Linked DNA regions of Homo sapiens: region 1 is linked to region 2. Evidence: promoter capture Hi-C in human tissues and cell types (Jung and others, 2019). All regions are on one chromosome and are shown on one strand. Each heading gives the region's core, a stretch centred on a gene start or on the middle of the fragment in contact. The rest is flanking DNA. Distances are from core to core; before and after follow the strand shown. Region 1 has its middle 40 kb from the start of LURAP1L-AS1. Region 2 holds the start of LURAP1L (leucine rich adaptor protein 1 like).

What was found. Contacts are between HindIII fragments. The study calls those that stand out against the background at their distance.
Region 1: a contact is called between a fragment that was not itself captured here and the fragment with the promoter of LURAP1L in region 2, in 4 of the 25 tissues and cell types used here (adrenal gland, dorsolateral prefrontal cortex, heart left ventricle and 1 more).

The regions. Positions count from the first base shown.
Region 1 is chr9:12,852,583-12,855,781 of GRCh38, forward strand. No RefSeq gene overlaps it. Among named protein-coding and RNA genes, the nearest start is that of LURAP1L-AS1, 40 kb to the left of the region's middle. The HindIII fragment of the contact is 5,054 bases long and covers 1-3,199 here.
Region 2 is chr9:12,773,452-12,776,286 of GRCh38, forward strand. LURAP1L (leucine rich adaptor protein 1 like) reads left to right here and starts at 1,569. Exons shown (of 2, transcript NM_203403.2): 1 at 1,569-2,576. The coding sequence starts at 2,265. All of the region lies in intron 2 of LURAP1L-AS1 (LURAP1L antisense RNA 1), which reads right to left. The HindIII fragment of the contact is 5,707 bases long and covers 1-2,145 here.

The DNA.
Region 1 (3,199 bases), core at 674-3,173, 79 kb after region 2:
TATGGAAAATGGTTTCTGAAAGACCACTGGTATTTGCGGCAACTGGTTTCTGGATTAGGAGTTCTTTGTGAGTGGGGGCTATGTCTTGTGTTACTGTATCTTCAGCTCCTAGCACAACACTTGGAACAGAGTAAGAGCTCAATAAATAATGGAGGAACAAGTGGACTCCAAATGAAGCATCATATAGAAAGAGGAGACCCTCATTGCTCTCCCATTAGAGAGTGACACCACATAGGAAGATAAAATTCAATTTGCATTGAGTTTTCAGTATCTATTTCAGCCACAGACCAAGATCACAAGAAGACAGCACATGTACAAAGATACCTGATACCAAAAGCTCAAGAGTAAAGCCTGGGTTAAAGATGAAGCAAAGGTTGACAAGGCATTCAAAACTAAGCTTGATTGTTGTGACAATATAGTAATAATGAAGGAGGAGCAACTTAACTGCTGACAACTGGGAAATGTTTCAGTGGATCTGAGCACATCAATGAAATAAAATAGTATACATCCATGGGAAATGTTAGCTTCAAAGAGTCTTTAATGGCATGATGTATCAAATACCTCGTGGAGCATTGCAGATGCTATTGACCTATTAACCTTGCCTTTCGGTTGGTCTAGCTGTGCTGCTGACTGAGTCACATAAGTTTAAGCTGACAGAGCCAATACAGAGCTTCTTCCTTCTGCCCAAGCCTTCGCTGTTGACATTGAGATGTGGCTCACCACTGACACACATGCAGAGAAGTTAATAACCTGCACCGCAAACTACAGACCTGTGGGAAAGAGTAGCTGGTGAATAAATTCTTTCCTTTTCCCCCCATGATTGACAATCCTATGATATAGACTGTAAGCCTTCTTAGAGAATGTTTCCATGAAACTGAGCTCTCAGTTGTGCTTAGCAGCAGTTAAATTGAAAATATTTATATTAGTTTTCCCTCCTTCGCTGTTTCATTCACCCTTTTTCTTATTCCTACTCCCTGAAATTGCACTCCCTAATGAAATAATAGCACGTACGGCTTTGCCTCAAATTCTTCTTTCTGCAGAAACTAGGTAAAACATTTAGACTGATCCTAGAAAGAAGACGTTCAGGCCAGGATTTGGGGACTGAAATATCCAGTTTTTGAACGGCACCAAGCACTTTGGTCACTCACTAGAGTTATATTACTCTCCTGCTACCTACTATATTACTTGTGGAGTCTTAGATAATCTTTAATGGAACATCAAACTGGCACATTAACTTGATGATATCCTACTTATTTGAGTTGGTGAGCAGGAATGACAAATACATGATATGCTTTAGTAAGATATATGTATGTTAGAGGATTACAAATAGACTCCATGAATCCTCAGGAGTCTGCCACATTTGTAAAGCTTTTCTGGGTCCAGTGGCCCAGGGTCTATTGAGTAAAGAATGTGGTTGCACCTTAAATCTCATACCAAGAAGAAAAAGACAAAGCAGTTATATACTGTTTAAATTTAGGAGGCCACATATATTACTTGTGCTGAAACCCATTTATTTGGAGACTTAAAAGACTACTAATTTTGAATGGTAGTCTGAGTAAAAGAGAAATCTATAGCAAGTCCAGACTGCTGTAGGGAATGTTGGTCTTGCCATTTGAACCATAGACTGGTTAATAAAGTGGATGTCGATGGTGAATAAGTGTGCTGTGTGGAGTCTCTGTCAAACCCTAATGAAAGATGCACAGTGTAGACCCCTAGGATTTTGGAACAAAACCTTCTTGACAAAATGTACTCTCTGCTTCATAGTTCCTAAGTACCTGGACATTCATAGAGTCTAAATGAGTAATTGTGGTTTACAAAGTGACTATGCAACTGAAACTGCCCATCATAAACTAAGATTTATCAGATCTGGGTCAAAGTACAGGGTATGTTGCACTATGAACAGGTTTTAGGTTCTATGATACAAATTGTATTTTGGGGATCGGGCCTGAGCAGTTTCAGAGAGCATAAGTAACAGGTGATTGGATTCTTGTATCAATTACCCTTATCACACTGACAACTTGACTTCAACTGACACTGGTGGCCATATGGGAATTTTGTTTTGTTTTGTATTGTATTGTTTCTGTAGATGGAAACTCAGTATGTCGCGTGGCTGGACTCAAACTCCTGGGTTCAAAAGATCCAATCACCTCAGCCTCCTAAGTAGCTGGGAACTACAGGTTAATGCTACCACACCTGACTTGGATGGGCAATTTTTATAATTAACAGTATCAGAGAAGAAATGAACCTGAGTCTGGTTCATGGATGAATTGGCACAATATGTTAGTGCTGAAAATTAAATTGCTACCATGTTGAAACCTTGTGGAAGGTGGTGCTAAGAAACCATGCTGAGCTGTGAGCCATCAGGTTTTAGATGAGCCGGTGTGTATGTGAAGGGAGAAGTGGTTGGAGGCCGAACTAGAAGCAAAGACTTCCAGGCAGTGACAAAGGTTTTGGATTGTTGGTAAAGGGCCAGGAAGGAAAAAATATTGAGAAATTGATACAAGAAAATATGAGAATACCAGGAGCTCTGAGTTGTGCAAAATGTTTACTATATTACACCCAAGAGGGACTTCAGGTTTTCTCAGCCCCAACTGCCTCTTGTTCCAGCTGCCACTGTGGTGCAGATGTGTGTGTTCCGACGAACCTTAGGTAGGTGCAAGCTGACAGTTTCGTGCCTATACTTGCCCCTTCCACCTCCTATTTGGGACTTTCCTGTTGAAGCCAAGGCTTAAGATACAATCAGACCCCACTGTGCCCCATTTTGTACCTAAGCACACACAATGCAGAAATGTGGGAGAATGTATATCCTGTGGTGAACTGGCGAGCAAAAGTGCAGCCACTGTATAAATGTTCTTCTTTTTTTCCCAGAGATGAAATGTGCTAATATAGGGGTTATGAAATTTCCTAGAGGATGGGCCCCAAGACCATGTAATCTTATTGTCAGCCAGCTTAATATCGTGTCTCTGTATTAGCGTTTTCCCTTCCTTGCTTTTATTTCCTTTGCCCCCTAGATTATAATACAAGCTAAAGTCCCAGGCTCTTCTTTCTGAAAAACCTATGGTAAGGCACATGGGAAAATCATCATGGTATAAAGTTATGTGAAAAAAAACAAGATACGAAATTCTATATTAGAATGATTCCAGTTTTATATAATTGATGTCTAGAAAGAAGTATTAAGAATAATATATTGAAAGTTAGA
Region 2 (2,835 bases), core at 319-2,818:
GAGTTTCTCCTGCAGACTTCTTTAAAAAACTATATACATATATACATACATATACGTATATATTAAATTATCCTCAGCCTCAAATACTGATTTTGCAGTCTGTGATTCATAGCAGAAGAGGTGTCCCATTTTTCTATATTGACACACGATAATTTGACATTTGTTTTTTACTGACCAATTTCTAGCTAGATATTTCATCTATAAACTGCACTTAGCCAGCCTTATGCTGAACTTTGTAAGGGTTTTGTAATAATAAACTGTTCTTGACTGAAACACAAGCCTTTCATAATTACATGCCACAGTGCAATTCTTATGCAACGAGCTTGTGTTTTTCCAAATTTAGGACCAAGCATGTAGTTTTATCAGTTAGCTGGGATTTGGTCTTGTTTTCCCTTGATTCTGTAAGTGGTAGTTCTAACTTTGAAATGGGTCATCTAACTTATAACTATTTTCTTCATTTCTTTTTAAAAGGGAGAAATAGCATGCAAATTTCTGGCATGTTGATAGAAAGTTCAGCATTTTTTCCCTGACATGAAATATTTCATTTAGAATGCGTATGTTTCCTCTACGTATAAGGTTTCCTAGAGTCAGATATGATAAAAACAAACTCTGAGATGTATATACCTATGTTCCTACAAGTGTAAAACCTGAATGATGTCTCTGGAAATGGAGCCTCGGAGTGACCAGGAACACAAATACTTATATGTCACAGAAATAGAGGGGCACATACTTTGAAATATTTCAATGGAAATCAAAAATTGTAGTTTACTGGATTGAAATTAGTATCCTCTACTTAAACATTTTTGACACAAACTCAATGCTGATTCAGATCTGTAATCCATGTAGCTCATAATAACTTACTTGGTAGAAGTATTTCAGATTAATGAATTGTACAATTGTACAAATTAATAAATTGTACAATTGTTCAACTATACAATTAATTGTACAATTTGTATAGTTGAAAAAATCTATAAATTAATTTATAGATAAATTATCAAAGAAGACAACATTTTAAATAGTTATTCCCAATATTTTTTCTTCCATAATTAAAATAAAAGTAAGTATCTCAGCAATTGCTTGTTCTTAAAATTTCACTGCTATCTCAGCAGTCATGTAAGTTATTCTGGCTATTTAATTTTTCACTTTTGTTTGCATACTGTAACAGTTGGTAGGATAATTAATTTTGATTGTACATTTCCATTGAACTTTTGATGAAATTGTTTCACTCTTTTTATTAGAATAAAATTATTAGGAAAGTCTTCTAAAGAGAGGTTTTCTGTTTGTTTTTCCTTTGAGGAAGGTAGAGAGATGGGAAACGAAGACACCAAATATAAAGTCATTCCTCTATCTCTCATTTTAAAACCTGTTTTAAAGGTTGTAGCTAGTCAGGAAAACTGAAAAATCAACTGGTATTCCTAACTAAAGCAGGGCTTTGAAACTCTGCTACTAGCGACAGGGTTGGGAAAATTCCGGTTGCTCTTCTTGTCTGTGATATACGGTAGAAGGGTTGGTCCTGGTTTGGTCCACCTGCCAGCGGAGTTTAAAGTTTCCGAGGCTCAGAGGAACACAATGACTTGGATCAAACAGCCTAAATGGGAAGAAGGACATTTTTGCTGCATCAAGGAAGCCGTTAAACTCCTGCTAAGCTAACTAGCTCTTTTTTATGGGTCCATGCACACGACCGAACTCCTCTTTCACTGACCAGAGATTATTTCTGACAACCCAGGATATCCCGAAAGCTTGGAGGCATATGGCTGGAAAATGAAACGACCCAGGACATCGTTTCTGGCTGCATCATTATTTTGTGTCGCGTAGTACCAGATGGGCAGTCAGTGAGCGGCGCAGGGATGTGAACGGACGGTTTTATAATGTGAAAATTTTCCCTTGGTAAAGCTAAAACAGATTTAATTTCCCTCTCTTTTCTTTCACTACTTCCCCCTCTTTATTCCCCCTCTGTCTGCAATATCAGTGAACTCAACTTTGCAGTGAGGTGGCCAAAAAGAGAGAGAATGAGGAGATCTTGATCATCTTAGTGTCGGAGGAGTCGCAGCGGACTGGGAACTGCAGCTGCGACCCCCCGCGTCCTGTGCGGATTTCAGGGCTGATACCGCATAGGCGGTTATGGAAAGGACGGTACACCGGAGCGGCGGAGGATAGAGACCCTGGCCCCCGGAGAGGTCTGCTGATTTCGCAGCAGCCTTCGAAGCCGTGGCTGCCTTTCATCTGCTGCGTTTTATTACTATTATCGCCGTTCCGGAAAAGTCATGGAAGACAGCCCGCTGCCAGACCTCAGAGACATCGAGCTGAAGCTGGGGCGCAAAGTACCCGAGAGTCTAGTGCGCTCTCTCCGTGGGGAGGAGCCGGTTCCCAGGGAAAGGGACAGGGACCCCTGCGGGGGGAGCGGTGGTGGTGGCGGCGGCGGCGGCGGCTGCAGTAGCAGCAGCAGCTACTGCAGCTTCCCTCCCTCCTTGTCGTCCTCCTCTTCGTCCTCCCCAACCTCTGGCTCCCCACGAGGTAGCCACTCTAGCGCCCTGGAGAGGCTAGAAACCAAGCTTCACCTCCTCAGGCAAGAGATGGTGAGTGTGGTGCGCCAGCCGCGGGGGCTGGGACCTGGGCTGGGCCAAAAGATGGGGCGATCTGAGAATGGGGCTGGGAGAGAGGACGGCAGGGGCTGCAGAGCGGAGCGCTGGGCGCGTGGGAAATGCTGGGTGGAGGAATGAGCAGGGGGCGCTCATCCGGAGGCAGCTGCTGCGAGGCTTGTTTACCGCGGACTTTGCTCGGTCACGGTTTGCAAAGACAGCACAGTCGGCTGGCTCCACTCTGTGTACTTTCGGA